Linked DNA regions of Homo sapiens: all the other regions are linked to region 1. Evidence: promoter capture Hi-C in 16 types of primary human blood cells and fetal thymus (Javierre and others, 2016). All regions are on one chromosome and are shown on one strand. The core of a region is centred on a gene start or on the middle of the fragment in contact, and the rest is flanking DNA. Distances in the headings are between cores, read along the strand shown. Region 1 holds the start of CARNMT1 (carnosine N-methyltransferase 1). Region 2 overlaps SMC5-DT (SMC5 divergent transcript). Region 3 holds the start of KLF9 (KLF transcription factor 9). Region 4 overlaps ABHD17B (abhydrolase domain containing 17B, depalmitoylase).

Region 1 (4,011 bases), core at 495-2,994:
CTCTGATGGTCTGACGCCTTGCTCCCTCTGTTACTACTAAACCTGGAGAAATAAAATATCCAAACTTCTCTTTTGGGCTCCGTAAAGTAATGCTGTCCCTGGTCCCTATTTCTGGGTTTAATCAGTAAATTATTTCATCAAGATCTTCGAAGTTCAAAAGTTCCTATCACATATACAATCAGATTCCAAATAACTTTAAGCTTTCACTAAGCAAGCTTCTAAATTCAGACTAGTAAACTAATTTAACTATCAGTCAAAAACTTGACAGACTATTTGGGAATGAGAAATGTATTTCTTTGCTACTATTTGTTTTGTTAAAAATAGAGCTTAAACAACATATGCCAAGCACTAGTGACATAAAAATAAAAAAGACTCAGCCCCTGCCCTTGAGGAGGTCACAGCAAAGCAAGAGATTTATAAAAACAACTATAATACATAAGATGAACAATATAAAAAAACTTTGCATAAAGCACAGCAGGAACCCACCTATGGGAACAGGTTTACCTGCGTAGGAGGTCATGTCTGTCTGATTCCAACTGCAGCCTCAGAACATAGTCACCGGTGGACTCATATCTCTTACGTGAATAAAAGTGTTATCTTCACCTGAAAATCCAGTTGATTTAAGTCCCTTTCAGCTCTTGGAATTATAATTTTGTGATTAAGCTACTTTAACATCTATCTAGAAGAAACGTGGAAGTTAGGGAGCTGTTTTTATGAATGAGGAGCATAAAGGTCCTACCACAGTGCCTAGCACACCAGGGAGAATTAGATACAGATTTGCAGAAAAAAAGAACGTAAAGGCAGCTCTTATTGTGACTTCTCTCATCTCTCCTAATAATTAGCAAATTTTAGAATATCCGGACCACTTCCGCCCTTAATCACCCACCAGTTAAAGACACTGAGCAGCATCATTCAATCGCTCACACAAAAGTGCAAGTGCGTTCACAGCGCCAAAGAGGGGTGGGTGGAAATCTTAAACTGCTCTTACAAGCACTGGTAACAGTTTGGGAAAATACGTCCTACAGCATCCCACGCGTAGGTGAACTTGGGCTCTCCGTGTGTTCAGTTTGGAGGACATCGACCACACACACCAATCAGCCCAGCAGTGGACGATTGTACCACCATCGTCTTCTATCTGAAATTGTTACAGCGCTTCTCTGGTCACCCCCATCGGCCTCAAAGCCAAACCTTTACGAGGACGGAGGCAGGAGAGCTAATCTGATCCTGAGGTCAGAAGACACGAGGCTGTGCAGCAGACGGCGCGGCGGACACGCGGGTGTGCAGGGCCGGGAGGGGCTGGGGTGGTGCGAGGTGACTCGGGGCCCGGAGGTCAGCTGCAGCAGCCGGGTCCCGACGCCTCGGAGGCGTGGCGGCGGGACGGCGAGCGCCCCCGTTCCGGCGGGTCCGCCGCCACCAGTGGGCGCCCCGACGGTCTGGGCCGGGGTCCGCCACGGGCTCCTTACCCGTAGTAGCGGAAGGCATTAATGATCTTCCAGAAGTGCTCACGCTCAAGCCTCTCCTCCTCCTCCTCGGTGCTGCGCGTGGCCGCCGCCGCTGCCGCCGAAACCGCCGCGGCCGAGCCCCAACGCCCGGCGGAAAACTGCACTTCCACCTCCTCGCTGCCACCGCCTCCTCCCCCGCAGCCCTCGGGCAGCCGGGAGGTGGGCGGCGGAGGGCGACGCCGTCGCTGCATCGCCGCCGCGGCCCTCGGCCTGGCTCGCTTGCGTCTCTCCGCGACCGACAGCGTGGTGGCGGCTGCTTGGCCTTCCTCTAGACGGCGCCCGCCGCGGACATGCCCCCAGCTCGCGGCGCGCTCCGCCCCCGCCACCCTCAGGCCTCCATCCGCGCTGGGCTCCGCCAGGTCTTCAGGGCTCCCAGAACCAATGCGCATGCGTGTGCCTTGGTACGCGGAGGGCCCGTGCGGTCTGCGCTCATTTGCTGCCGGGCTTCGGAGACAGCGCGCTGACGTCACAACCACGCTTCCAAGGGCGGGGCCAAGGCCCCTTGGTGGGAGGCGGAGGAGGAGCTCGTAGGTGGGGTGGGACTGGCACTGCCGTTACCTGTGCGCGGCCGCGTGGGTGGGACTTAAAAGCCGGCGAGTGCCGGATTGTTGAGCTGGAGGCTGAACGCGGTCCCAGGCACTAGCAAAGAAGGGAAAGGCAAAAAGGAAAAGTTCGGCTTTGATGATTTTATTCGGAATTTTTATTTCAGAAAGTCTAGAAGGAACGTCTTGTATCCACCCTAATTTAAGTTTTAATTCACTTCCTAAATGAATTCCTATTTTTAATTACTTAAGGGGGTCGGAAGTGGGCGCCATCATCTTTTCACTTTTTTTTTTTTCCCCACTCTGTCGCCCAGGCTGGAGTGCAGTGGTGCGATCTCGGCTCATTGCAACCTCTGCTTCCTGGGTTCAAGCGATTCTCCTGCTTCTGCCTCCCGAGTGGCTGGGATTACAGGCGCGCGCCACCACGCCCGGCTAATTTTAGTATTTTTAGTAGAGATGGGGTTTCACCATGTTGGCCAGGCTGGTCTGGAATTCCTGGCCTCAGGCGATCCACCCTCCTCGGCCTCCCAAATTGCTGGGATTACAGGCGTGAGCCATCGCGCCCGTCCCATCTTTCCAGTCTTTAGGGGCTTGCGGCAGTCCTAATTCCTCCTTTACTGAGGATGGCAACAGATGAGGAAAATGCAAGGACCTTCTATCCAGCACCTGGTCTTGGGAAGACCATTACACCTACCAGCATCTAAGGGTGGCTCTTGGGAAATAACTTATTCTGGGGCCGGGCGCGGTGAATCACGCTTGTAATCCCAGCACTTTGGAAGGCCTAGGTGGGCGGATGACGAGGTCAGGAGATCAAGACCATCCTGGCTTACATGGTGAAACCCCGTCTCTACTAAAAACACAAAAAATTAGCCGGGCTTGGTGGCTGGCGCCTGTAGTCGCAGCTGCTCTGGAGACTGAGGCAGGAGAATGGCGTGAACCCGGGAGGCGGAGCTTGCAGTGAGCCGAGATCGTGCCATCCAGCCTGGGCGACAGAGCGAGACAGCGTCTCAAAAAAAAAAAAAAAAGAAAAGAAAAAGAAATAACTTATTCTGTTCAATTTAATCCACCACCCAGCAAATGAGTCTTACAAAGTAATGATAAAAGGGAAAGATTGCTTTATTCGAGGGGTTAAATATGCCCAGTGACCACAAAGTCTGTTAAAAAGTTACAACCATATTGAAAGTGAAGTGGCTTCATATTTTCATAATTTAAATTAATAGTTGAAATAAAGGTAATGCTTAAAATGACAACATTTTTATATAAAAGTTTTCTAAAACGTGAGTCTATTAATAGTAATGCAGTAATACATGTTTCAAAATTCAAAAAGAAAGTGCAAAGGATTACAAATATGAATTGGAGACAGTCTCGCTCTGCTGCCCAGGCTGGAGTGCAGTGGCACGATCTCAGCTCACTGCAACCTCCCGGCCTTCCAGGCTCAAGCGATTCTCCTGCCTCAGCATCCCGAGTAGCTGGGATTACAGGCATGCGCCACCACACCTGGCTAATTTTTTGTATTTGAAAATACTAAAGTAGAGACGGGATTTCACCATGTTGCGCAGGTTAGTCTCCCTGAACTCAGGCAATCCACCTGCCTGGGCCTCCCAAAGTGCTGGGATTACAGGCGTGAGCCGCCACGCTCGGCCAAGTGTGAATAATTGTTTTACCTGTCCCTAGCCAGCTATGTTCCTCTCCAGACACAATATACCAATTCCTTGCCCATTCTTCCAGATTTTCTATCTAATGTCTATTTTTCCAAACACTAATTGTTCGGAAGTTATGTATAAACACTCATAGTAGTAGCTGTTTCTAATACTGTTCTCATGTACACATGCACAGAAGTTTTACATGTTGTAATTCATTAAATGTATTGATATAGGTCTGAATGACCTAATTGATAAAGGCCAGAATGTCATGGATAAAGATAATCAGCTCCATACTTTGAAATATCCTCGGAGGTAGAATAAACA
Region 2 (4,011 bases), core at 1,512-4,011, 4.8 Mb before region 1:
CATGTGTTTGTTTTTCTGTGTGTTTTCCCAAATTTTCTGCATTTAACATGTGTTGCTATGGTAATCACAGCTAAAACCAGTAACATTTCCTTTTTAAAAGGATGGTGTTACAGCATGACTGAGTAGCTGTTTAAAACTTGTAGAGTGTCTACATTTGTGAAGTCATCACAAGTTCAGGGACTCATTCTAAAATTTCAAGTTTAGAAACACAATTTGATTAGTTCACTAAAGACTAATCACATAGAAGGAATACATTCTAATGTTTGATAGCACAGTAGAGTGACTATAGTTAACAATTATCTATTGTATTTTTCAAAATAGCTGGAAGACTTGAAAGGGACCCATCACATAGACATTATAAATACCCTAACTTAATCATTACATATCATACGCATGTAACAAAATTGCACATGTACCCCATTAATATGTACAAATATATATATATTCAAAAAATAATTTTTAAAAAGCTGAGGAGGAAAGAACAAATTTTAAAAAGCTGGAGGGGAAAGAACAAATTAAACTTTAACAGAAAGTTAATTACGAAGATAAGTAGAAATTATGAAATCAAAAGTCAACAAAAGCAAAAATCAAGTTGTTCCTTTAAAAAGATTAATAAAACATACGTAACCTCTACTAGATTAATAAATGAGAGGAAGAAATGAACAATTTACCAGTATCAAGTGAGAAAGAGGAAGCATCACTATAGATGCTGCAAACGTTAATGGATATTAACACATAACTTCATGTAATAAGTTTGACAACTTAGATGAAAAGGACAAATTACTTGAAAAGCACAACCTATTAAAACTGACTCAAGAAGACACAGAAAATCTGAAATTATTTAATCATGCTATTCACACAGCTACTTCAGAGGCTCCAAGTCTTATAATGTGGGGTTTCTTGGCTCCTTACCCCTCTCCTGGGGGATCTAGGAAATAAATGTTGCTATTGATTGCCAAAAAAGGGAAGAAAAAAAAGGACTGATCATTGTACAAAAATGATGACTAGCTCCCTGCCCTCAGCTCCCATTACTAATGTCTATAATTCTTATTTGTTCATCAGGGTAGATTCCCCTAAATGTAGTAACTTCATCAAACAATCTGACTTTTCTACAGCTCTTGAAGCAGAGCCTTTACTTTTCAAAAAATTCATGCTAGCAACTCAGGGAAGGACAGTATTGTGCCCTCCTGAGCACTGAGTTTTTTCGTTACTCACCGCCATTTGAACAGTTTAAAAATTATTCTTTATTTTTGTTGCAGTCTCACCAACGCACCTTAACGTAGCAGTTTCTCATTGTCTGAACTAGTACCCTGGGTTCTTTGTCCTCACGTCCAAGAAAATTAAGGAACGTGGACACAAAGGTGGGGTTGGAGCAAAAGTTTAATAAGTGAAAGAAAGAAAAGAAGCTCTCTGCATTAGAGAGGGGAGTCTGACTGGACTGCCAAGTTGTAGTAAAAACGTCAGGGTTTTTATAAATGGACTAGTGAGGAGGGGTGTCTTATCTTCCCAGGGCCTGAAGATTTAGTTGGGACCAGGTGTGCTATCGGCATAGAGCAGAGTTCCTAACAGCCTTTACCCAATTCCTTGATCACATAAGCAGGCTTTTAGTTTATGCTGCTCTGTGCTGCTTTGTGTCGCTTAAGTTTCTGTGTCTGTTCCCAGACATTTTCTTGCAGCTGCAGGCATCCCCCAACCCTCCCTGTATAAGCTTCTCGCTTCCGTATCTTAGTGGGCCTAAACGGAAAGGAATGTACTTATTAAGTCTCACAGTTTTTACTGGGGCCCATTGTATGAGTATGAAGTCGAGACTCTCCCACTCCTGTGCTTGTTTATCTGTGCTTAAAGCTGTCTATCTGTCCAGGTGCAACCTGAGGTTTTCCCAAGGTTGTTTTATTTTTTGCCTGTTGCTGTGACTTTTCAGGTAGGCTGCTGCTGCAGTCTGAATTTTTTCAATGATTTTTCCTTCCCGTCTCTCTCATTTTCATTTGCATTTAAGAAAATTTCCAGTAACTACGACAAGTTCACATGCTTTTTACTTACTCTATTTTCTCTGGAGCGGAGTCCTTGTGTGAGAGGAAGCAGCAGAGACCTGGGAAAGGAGCTTTGGTCTAGGAGTCAGGAATCAGGGATCTACTGCAATAGCTTTCTAAGTGGCCTTCCACTTCCACACTTGGTGCCCTCTAATCCATTTTCCACACAGCAACCAGAATTATTATTTAAAAACTTTAAGGCCAGGCACAGTGGCTCATGCCTGTAGTGCCAGCACTTCGGGACACCGAGGTGGGCGGATCACTTGAGGTCAGGAGTTACAGACCAGCCTGGCCAAAATGGTGAAACCTCGTCTCTACTAAAAATACAAAAATTAGCCAGGTGTGGTGGCATGCACCTGTAATCCCAGCTACTCGGGAGGCTGAGGCAGAAGAACCGCTTGAACGAGGGAGGCAGAGTTTGCAGTGAACTGAGGTGGCACTACTGCACTCCAGCCTGGGCGACTGGGTGAGACTCTGTCTCAAAAAAATCAAATAAAAAAAATCAAATAAAAAAATTAAAAGCTTTAGTCAGAACATGGCCCTCTCCTGCTTAAAACTTTGCAATGGCTTCCCATTGCTTTAAAAATAAAATTCAGGCTTTTCCACGATGGACAAGGTTCTGCTCTGCAACCTTGTTCACTGCTCTGCAGCAACACTGGCCTTCCCACCTCAGAGCTTTTGTCCTTACTGGTATGTTCCAGCAAAATTCTTTTGCCTGGGGTGCTCTTTTCTCAGATCGTCACAGTTTCTTCTCGTCCTTCAGAGTTTATCTTAAACACCACCACCTCTCTAAGAGGCCTTCCGTACCTCCCACCCATCAGGTTCATTTTGTTTTCTTCCTAACACCTGTCACAGTCTGACATTATGCTAATCATTTGTTGTGTCAGCCTTAAGTAGTGAAATTCAGAAAATATCATTAAGTATAGAGTTTATTCTAACGCAAAGCTTGAGGACAGCCACCTGGAAACACCAACTCCAAACAAATAGGGTCAATGTTCCAAAGTGAAGTTAAGGTTTCATTTACACAGGCAGAAACAGAGAAGGTTCAGCAGGAGTACATTTTCAATACAAGAGCAGTGCATAAATTACAGCGATTAGATTAGTTATAGATAGCTACATTCCAAGGAAGATAACTATATTAATTTATGAAGGGGGTAGTGATCTGAGGGGGTCTTACCTCTGTCTCTGTTTGGTCTTCCTGATTATAGGAAAAAACAAGGCAGACATTGCAGCTGTATGCCATGGGACTCAGGCCCCATCGCCACATTCTTCGCAAGGCTCAGAATAATTTAAAGTTCCAACAGCTTTAAGTTTGAATTATTTAATTTCACAGTTGATTCACTTGTTCTTTTCCTGTCTCCCACAATAGAAAATAAGCTCCCAGGGATGCAACCTTGGCAGGCTCCTAAACTGCCACGGCTCCAGTTTCTTGTAGATTAGATATTCACTGTTGGTTAAATGAAAGAAGTTCTAGACAGGCCTCGGTGTGCTGCCTCCTCTTTAACGAGAGGGCTTACTAGATGAATGTGAGCAGACGGAAGCAGAACACCCTCTTAATGAAGGCAGCGCATTCCAGCTCAGGGATTTCTAGAAACCTCGGGGGCGGAAGTTTAACCAGAGAATTAGGAGGCAAGGGGAAGAGTAGCAATGAGGTTAACCTGTGCAGTGTAGTCATTTCACGAGTTTGAGAACGCCTAGCACGATGCCTTAACGGAGCGTCGGGCACAGAGTCATTTGGGAGGATTTCTTTTTCGGATTTTTGAGACAGGAACCTGATTTGAAGCAACAGGGAAGAACACCAAGAGGACGAAGAGCCAACGACGGGCGTGCCCGGGAGCTCTCACCTGGAAGGGGTGGGAGCAAGCAGGGCCTGACGTCCTCCCGCCTTGGCGGCCGTGGACGCCCCAGGTGCCACCCACAGCAGCCTCCCACCACACATGACTGAGGCTCGGGAAGCAATAAAGTGGCTTTCAAAATACTA
Region 3 (4,011 bases), core at 1,132-3,631, 4.6 Mb before region 1:
ATCAGACTCCTATGCTGCCTGAAGCCGGGTTATTTTAAACCTCTCGGGGGACTCCCAGCCAAATTTAAAACCACCTTGGCAAGCCCAAAAAAGTAGCAGGCATCCAGTTAAATGAGTCCTTAGTCATCCCTAAAAGGCTCGAAGTAAAGTGCGCCGCGTCCCCCCTCGGTTTCAACCACTTCTCTGCAACCCGACAAGAGAATTAAATAAAAGATACGCCATCTGACTTCCCCGCTGCCAGCGTCTCCCAGGTGGGGTGGCCCCACCGTCGCGGGGTGCGGGAGAGTCCCGGGGGCGGGGCGGGACAGGGGAGGGGCGGACACCACTCCCCGCGAAGCCACGCACCGCACTCGCTCTGCCCGCCAGTTTAAGGCTCTCCGTGGCTCCCGGAGGCCGGGGACAATTAAGGAGAGAGTGAGCTTTCCGCCAATGCACATTTAAATTATTTAAAGAGTTAAACCGCATCTTATCCAACATGTTTGCACCCTTTCGGCCGAGTGCAGTGTCCCGAACGCCCAGGAACGCTGCCTGGCCAAAGGTTAACTAACCCCAGAGCTCCGGGGGAGAGGGCGACGCCGCTAACCTGTATGCACTCTGTAATGGGCTTTGAGATGGGAGGATTTTCCATAGACTTTCCCACAGCCACTGTAGGGGCACTTGTGCCTCTTTTCGGAGGCGTGTTTCCCCTTCGCAGCCACTCCAGGATGGAGGAGGGAGAGCGGGCTGGGCGCGCTGCCAGGATCCTGTCTCTCCTCCGGGCTGTGGGAAGGACTCGACCCAGATTCGGTGGTCACGTCGCTGTCGGATCCCATATCCTCATCTGGACTTTCCAGACTGTCGCTGCACACGGAGGGGGTCTGGATGGGTCGGTACTTGTTCAGGTCCAACAAGCTCTTGGCGATGGTGACCAGTGTGCAGTAATCCTTCCAGGTGTCCCCCGGGTCACCGTGCTCCTTGGTCACCTCGCGCTCAGGTAGTCGCAGCCGCTCGGCGTCCGGAGCGACCCCATGCTCCGGCACCGCAGCGCGGTTCGAAATGGAAACCAGACACTGGGCAGCCACGAAGTCCATGTAGGCGGCCGCGGACATGGTGCGGGCGACGGCAGCCCAGGCGGCGCGGACAAACTTGGCGGTGGCTGCGGAGGTTCGGCTCGCCCTGCCCTGGCCTCGGACGACGAGCGCGGCGCGGCGCGGCACGGCGCGGCGGCCAAGGGGGCGGGGGCGCGGGGCGCTTCCGACTCGCAGGAGCGCCGAGGCGACCTCAGCCCCTCATCTTTACGTAACCGGCAGCGCCTCCGCACGCAGCATCCACGGCCCCGGGCTCCGCCGCGCCGCCGCCTCTAGCCGCCGCCCCTGCCCCGCGCCGGCCGCGATCCCCCGACGGGCGCGCCGGCCCCTCTGAGCCGGCTCCCTTGGAAAGATGCCACACGTGGCGGTCGCAAGTTTATTCGACTGAAAACGCCCCCGAGGCGCTGGGAGAGGAAACTGCAAGAGAGGTGCACGCCCTCGGCCGCCTCGCCGTCGAGCCAAAGCCCCAGGACATTCACCCGATCACCCCGACGCGGGTGGCGAGGGTCCCGCCGAGCGCCAGGTCTAAGAGACACTTTTTCCCGAGTCCACTGACGGCTTCTGAACCCCTGCTCCGGCCGGTCCGCACCGTTCCGGCATTCTCTTGCTCAGTAACAATTTCGCAGAATCCCATCACGTCACAAACCAAACCCCCTCCAATTGGCCAGTGGGGAGGGTGATTCAACTCTGTTTACTTTCTCCCCCTGCCAGTCAGAACGGCCTTCGGTGGAGAGGTGCGTCTAGAACTGAGGCGTGCGGCCAATCCGACTGTTCCGTTTCGCTGCCTCGTGCTACCCCTACAGCCTCGAACACTGACATTTAAAAGGGTAACAGCTGGGAGGCAGGGAAGGGGCAGCCGCACACTTTCGGAGTGCCTCGCGGTCCCGTGGCCGGTCCGGGCCTCCTGGCTCACGTTCCAGCTTGCGGAGCTTTGGGACACATCTTTCCTAGTCAGTTGCGCTCGTTCCTATGGCAAAAGAGAACTTCAGCTTCGGTTTTCCAGCTCCCAAACAGTTAAGTGACTTCCTGCAAACGCTACAGTCCCAGCAACCAGCCTTCCAATCAAAAGTAAGTTGGTTGATGTCACTGGCATTGGCTCGGCCAATCACAAGGGCGTTCCGAAAGCAAGCGCTCGACACTTGTAAACGCGAAGAGCTGTAGTGAAACTGGACACATCTTTGTATTTTGTGTTGCTGGTAGTAAATTTGAGTTATGGATGAGAGGACAGGGGTGATGAATAAATGCAGTGTGAATCTATAATTAAAAAAACCCCATTATGTCAGGATAAGTCCAAGAATAAACACAAATGAGTAAGAATTCGTTTTGTTATATATTTTTTGGATGCAGCATACTTTGGGGCAGATGTTTAAAAATTCTTCCATCCAATACATTAACTATGACCAATTCATCTTAAAAATGCAGTGCTAACAAAAGTTCTGGTTTTACAGCATAGCCTTTTTACTGCCTGAGATTCTTCCATTGAAACATCCCATCTTTGCTTGTCATATCTCTTAATTCCTCTACTTCTCTGGTGCAATTTAGTCTAAATAAATTCTTTTAGCTTTATTTGGAGGCTATTTTTAACCCACTTTCAGAAAAACGGAGACAAAAACCATTCATTTGTGTAACTTTTATAAAAAACCCACCATTCTTAGCTCTTTTTCTTTCCAGAGCCCCTGCATGGTTTTTAGGACATGTTTCTCTTCCCTCACTTCACAAATGTGGAAACTGAGTTACAGAGAAGTGACTTATTTATCTTATTAGACAGATAATGATAGAACTCAATAGAAACCACAAGTCTCCTGATTTCTAGCTCTTTGTGCTTGCAACTAAGCCCTTTTGGTTTTGTGAAATATTAACTGTGCAGAACAGATTTTTAGGGACTGGAACAAGCTGGAAATCCTTAGCCATGGAATACTGTGGCATTACTTGGTCAACAATTAGTATGGGTCTTGGAGTCTGATTAACTTGGTTTACCCCTCCGTCTGAATTAACGATGTGGTTGTTTTCCATCTTGATAGCTAGAAAAGAATCTAGGGCTAGTTCTTTTTGCAAGAGGCATACTGTCAGCACAATTCATTAAAAATAATTCACTTTCGTGAATGTGAGAGGTACCTGATTCTATGTGATGCAGATTCGGTGAGTTCCAACCCTGACCCCCCACTGGCTATTAACCTTTGTTAAGAGAAAGTTACACCAGGTTCTGGTCTCCGAGGCAAGGGTCTCAAATTGACTCTACCAATGTGAGATCTACAGTAGTTTCTTTTGACTTTGTTTTTAAAGTGGTACATCAAAAATAATAATAATAAAAAAAAAGTTAGCCAGGCGTGGTGGCTCGCACCTGTAGTCCCAGCTACTCAGGAGGCTGAGGCTGAAGGACTGCGTCAGCCTAGGTCAAGGCTGCAGTGAGCCCTGATTACACCACTGTACTACTCCAGCCTGGGCAACAGAGCAAGGCCCTGTTTTTTTTGTTTTTTTTTAAATCATAACTAAGGGTGGCTCAGGTAAGTAAGAGTATAATAGATTTTAATTAAAAAATAACAAACCTGACAAGACCAGTTCAATAAAAGTGTACAGCTTAAAAAAATAAAGAAAACAACAACAAAAATATTAAAGTGGTACAGGGAAGATATTGCAGTAGGTGACTGCAGGTGGAAGAAAGGTGTAGATAGGGGATACTGGGCAACCAAGAATATCATCACCATCAGCATCATTATCACCGACCCCTTTCATGGAGGGCTTACTCTGTGTCAGGCCCTGTACCAAGCACCCTGCATGCATCCCTGTAAGGTAGGTATACAGTGTATAAAAAACTCCAAGCCATCTTGGAGTTCTTGCATTTTTAGAACTTAATCTCTTAATTTTAGAAAAGAATTCACTGAAGCCCAGGGGAGTTTGCCTACTTCATGATTTTTCTGGGACAAATTTTGTCCCCTAGGATACA
Region 4 (4,011 bases), core at 651-3,150, 3.1 Mb before region 1:
CTACCATACTCATTTTTTAAAAAAATCCATTATTTCTTATCACAGTGTAGCCTCATTATAAAAGACTGAGCGGGCTGGGCAAGGTAGCTCATACCTGGAATCCCAGCACTTTAGGAAGCAGAGGCAGGTCGATCACTTGAGGTCAGGAGTTTCAAGACCAGCCTGGCCAACATGGTGAGACCCTGTTTCTACTAAAAATAAAAATAAATAAATAAATAAATAAATAAATAAATATTAGCTGGGAGTGACGGTGCATGTCTGCAATCCCAGCTAGTCGGGAGGTTGAGACAGGAGAATAGCTTGAGCCCAGGAGACAGAGGTTGCAGTGAGCCAAGTTTGTGCCACAGCATTCCAGCCTGGGTGACAGAGCTGGACTCTGTCACACAGACACACACACACACGAAAGACTGAGAAGATTTACCCTAATTCCCACCTTCTATGCTCATTCTGATTTATTTTAGTTTGTATTAGTTATAACTTTAGATATTATAGCTGAACCTGTATTTCTTATTCTATCAACTTTAGGAAGTTTCTTCTGGCTCCCCCATGTAATCATATACCATTATTGCTGACTATACAATTAAGTTTCACATTAAGTTTTATATCATTTGCAATTTATTAAGTTTTTATCTATTGGTTGATTCTCATTAATTGGATAATAAAAAGTACTTACAGTGTCATTCACTGCCCATCCAAGGGGCATGGTAAAACTCAGAGAATAAACAGCAATTTTATGTCACTAAATTCCAAGTGTCAAGGTGTTTACATTCTTGATACTCAATTACACCTCACTGTTCAAAAATAAGGCACATTTTCGTTTGCTTCACATTTGGACTTTCAGAAGAGGCTTTAATTTTCTGAAGTTTTTGCCTTTTTATTACATTTAACATATTCCAATTTATTAGAATTTGTTCAACAAAATCCATGTTGTTCTTAAAGACATGTTTAGACCCCAGTGATTTCTGTTTTAATTTGAAATAATTATGTTCTGGGTTAGTTCACAGCCCAGTTGCCTGCCTACCTAGTACTTCTTTTCATCACATACCTCTGTTGATTCTGAATCTCAAGCTCCTTTTTGTAAGATTTTTTTGTTTGATTTTGCTGTACTACAACTCCCAAGCACTACCCCCCACCCCCTTACCCAAAGGTCTGGCGAAGTAAACTACACTGTTATGTATACTTCCACACTTACAGCAAACTAGGTCTGCTTCAGAATTATAGGTTGTTTCTTAAAATTCTCCTCGAAATTTAAATCATTGGTCCACATTTTCTAGTACCAAGTAATAAAAGTGTCTACCAATCTGATTTTTTAAAAGTGATTCTCATCTCTCAAAAATATTTATGAGATTTCCCTACATCCTTAGCTCTGAAATTTCATAAGCCTATTATCTAAATGTGTGTTATTGTTTGTCCATTTTGTTTTATACTTAATGGGTCCATTTGATCTAAAGCCCCGAGTCTTTACTTAGCTCAGATAATTTTTCTTCTATTTCCTCTCCATCTTCTCTGTTCCATGTGGAATTCCTTTTTAGGAATCCTAGGACTATCCACTATATCTATAAAGCTTTTCTTTTTGTTCTCTTCATTTGTGTTTTTCAGGTAATGCTTGTTCATCTTGGGTTTCATGCTGTTGGAATGCTTCTTTCTTGACTGTTCATATTTCTAAGCAAAGAACTAAATTGGGTTTCCTTTATATTTGTGTAAGCCTATTGACCCAGAAGGCCTATAGTCTGAATAGGACTGACTGCAGAATTGGAACTCCTGTAACTGCTAGAATAAAGAGGATTTTGGAGATAGAGTAGTCAGTGTCAGTCTGTCTCTCACAAACACACACATACGCACTCTCTCTCTCACACACACTCATACCCTGTCTATAGGGCAAACAAGTATGTTCTGTTTATCTCTTCAATGGGACCAGAAGATACTTTACAAATATTCGAGAACATAGTACAGCTTTAACTCTTGGTCCAATAATGTAATTAAAAATTTTACCCAGTAAATTCTTCTAGTGAGATGCCAACGAAGCCTTTGGACAGCACGATAGCACAGTGTAGTCCAAAGAGCACTAAGAATCAAAAGAGCCATGGCTTTCAGTTCTAGTTTTACTATTAAAAAGCTGGTGACTTTAGGGAAGTCAATCTCTTTATACCTCATTTTCCTTTTCTACAAAGTGAAAAGCATAAACTGATAATAAGGTTTCTTCTAGTTCTAAAACTTTGTAACTAAGATGTTCTCATAAGCTTCAGATACAATCTTCCATAGTATATAAAAAGAATGAAGAAATTTATAATTTGAAAAACTTCAGGTTTTCAAAGTTGTTCCGGCTACTAAAAACAAAGCTCCTGGCCAGGCGCAGTGACTCACACCTGTAATCCCAGCACTTTGGGAGGTCGAGGTGGGCGAATCACGAGGTCAGGAGATCGAGACCATCCTGGCTAACACGGTGAAACCTCATCTCTACTAAAAATACAAAAAAATTAGCCAGGCGTGGTGGCGGGCGCCTGTAGTCCCAGCTACTTGGGAGGCTGAGGCAGGAGAATGGCATGAACCCGGGAGGTGGAGCTTGCAGTGAGAGGAGATCACGCCACTGCACTCCAGCCTGGGTGACAGAGTGAGACTCCCTCTCAAAAAAAAACAAAAACAAACAAACAAAAAACACAAAGCTCCTAAACAAGTACACTATATTTACCAAAATTTAGTTAATATAAAATTTATAAACATAAATTTACATTTAGCAAATTAATTTGGGGGGGGGAAGGCAGGTGATAAGGTGGGGGAAGTGCAGAGGTGAGAGAGTAAGGGAGGTTGTCATTTCCTACAGCTGTTTTCCAAAATGAGTGGTTTTTGTATCTTGGTCACTGTAGGGAAATAATGTTGTGTTTTTTAAATTATGGTAAAATATAGATAAAAGTTACTATTTTAAGTGTACAGTTCCATGGCATTAAATACATCCACATTATTGTGCAATTATCACCAGATTTTATTTTTCATCTTCCCCAACTGTAACTCTATACCCACTAAACAATAACATCATTTTCTTCTCCTGCCAGCCTCTGGCAACCACCATTTTGTCTCTATGAATTTGACTATTCTAAGTACCTCATACAAGTGGAATTATACAATATTTGTCCTTTTGTGACAGGCTTATTTCATTGTAGCATGTCTTAGAATTTCCCTTCCTTTTCAAGGCTGAAAAATATTCCATTGTACCTAAAACAAACTATTTTGTCCTTTGCACTCACACCACAACAATCACCAGAATACTTCTGTGACCAGATGTATGAGAGATTTCCCCCAATGCAAGCAATCGCTTCTGCAGTGGACACCAGGTGGGTGTCCTCCCACCCAGTTCAATTCCAACATTATCTACCTGGAGACAGTGTCACATCCCACAGGTTGAGGGCTCCCCACTTCCAATCCCAATCTAAAGCCCCAGGTTGTTTTACCTATGCTTCTGACTAACTGGCTATAAATTGGGGTTCCCACAACCTCTTACTCCAGTCTGATTAATGTGTTAGAGCGACGCACAGAACTCAGGGAGACAGATTTACCAGTTTATTATAAAGGATATTACAAAGGATACAGTTGAAGAGATGCACAGGGCAAGGCATGTAGGAAGGGGATGCCACCCTCCATGTGCTCAGCCATCTGGAAGCTTTCTGAATCCAGTCCTTTTGGATTTTTATGGAAGCTTTGTTAAGTAGGCAATGATTGATTAAATCACTGGCTGTTGGTATCAACTTAACCTTCACGCCCTCTCTCCTACCCAGAGATTAACAGGCAGGACTGTAAATCCCAACCCTCTAATCCTGCCTGTTTCTGGGTAACTAACATCCATCCAATAGCTACCTAGAGGTGCATGGCTTTCAGTCAACTTGTTAGCATACAAAGATACTTCACTGGCCGGGCGCGGTGGCTCACGCCTGTAATCCCAGCACTTTGGTAGGCCAAGGCGGGTGGATCACAAGGTCAGGAGATGGAGATCATCCTGGCTAACATGGTGAAACCCTG

What was found. Contacts are between HindIII fragments. The CHiCAGO score rates a contact against its expected background, and 5 or more counts as called.
Region 2: a contact is called between a fragment that was not itself captured here and the fragment with the promoter of CARNMT1 in region 1, in 2 of 17 cell types (total B cells and total CD8 T cells). The highest score is 8.1, in total B cells.
Region 3: the fragment with the promoter of KLF9 here is called in contact with the fragment with the promoter of CARNMT1 in region 1 in 1 of 17 cell types (total B cells); the score reaches 6.3 in total B cells.
Region 4: a contact is called between a fragment that was not itself captured here and the fragment with the promoter of CARNMT1 in region 1, in 1 of 17 cell types (erythroblasts). The highest score is 5.6, in erythroblasts.

Annotation. Positions count from the first base shown.
Region 1 is chr9:75,026,549-75,030,559 of GRCh38, forward strand. It overlaps CARNMT1 (carnosine N-methyltransferase 1), which reads right to left and starts at 1,745. Exons shown (of 8, transcript NM_152420.3): 1 at 1,464-1,745. The coding sequence starts at 1,693. RefSeq lists an enhancer at 577-626 and a silencer at 1,277-1,966. The HindIII fragment of the contact is 4,364 bases long and covers 214-4,011 here.
Region 2 is chr9:70,254,708-70,258,718 of GRCh38, forward strand. SMC5-DT (SMC5 divergent transcript) reads right to left here. Exons shown (of 4, transcript NR_039990.1): 1 at 3,689-4,011; 2 at 3,208-3,228. Among named protein-coding and RNA genes, the nearest start is that of SMC5-DT, 2.2 kb to the right of the region's middle. RefSeq lists an enhancer at 3,838-4,011. The HindIII fragment of the contact is 423 bases long and covers 2,551-2,973 here.
Region 3 is chr9:70,412,276-70,416,286 of GRCh38, forward strand. It overlaps KLF9 (KLF transcription factor 9), which reads right to left and starts at 2,382. Exons shown (of 2, transcript NM_001206.4): 1 at 584-2,382. The coding sequence starts at 1,088. KLF9-DT (KLF9 divergent transcript) reads left to right here and starts at 1,915. Exons shown (of 4, transcript XR_001746710.3): 1 at 1,915-2,135. It overlaps LOC124900273 (a long non-coding RNA gene), which reads right to left and starts at 531. Exons shown (of 2, transcript XR_007061576.1): 1 at 75-531. RefSeq lists silencers at 147-339, 1,075-1,254, enhancers at 415-524, 863-1,716, 1,545-1,624, 1,965-2,094 and a promoter at 1,431-2,233. The HindIII fragment of the contact is 11,812 bases long and covers 1-4,011 here.
Region 4 is chr9:71,889,907-71,893,917 of GRCh38, forward strand. The region is part of intron 1 of ABHD17B (abhydrolase domain containing 17B, depalmitoylase); the gene reads right to left. Among named protein-coding and RNA genes, the nearest start is that of ABHD17B, 19 kb to the right of the region's middle. The HindIII fragment of the contact is 676 bases long and covers 1,563-2,238 here.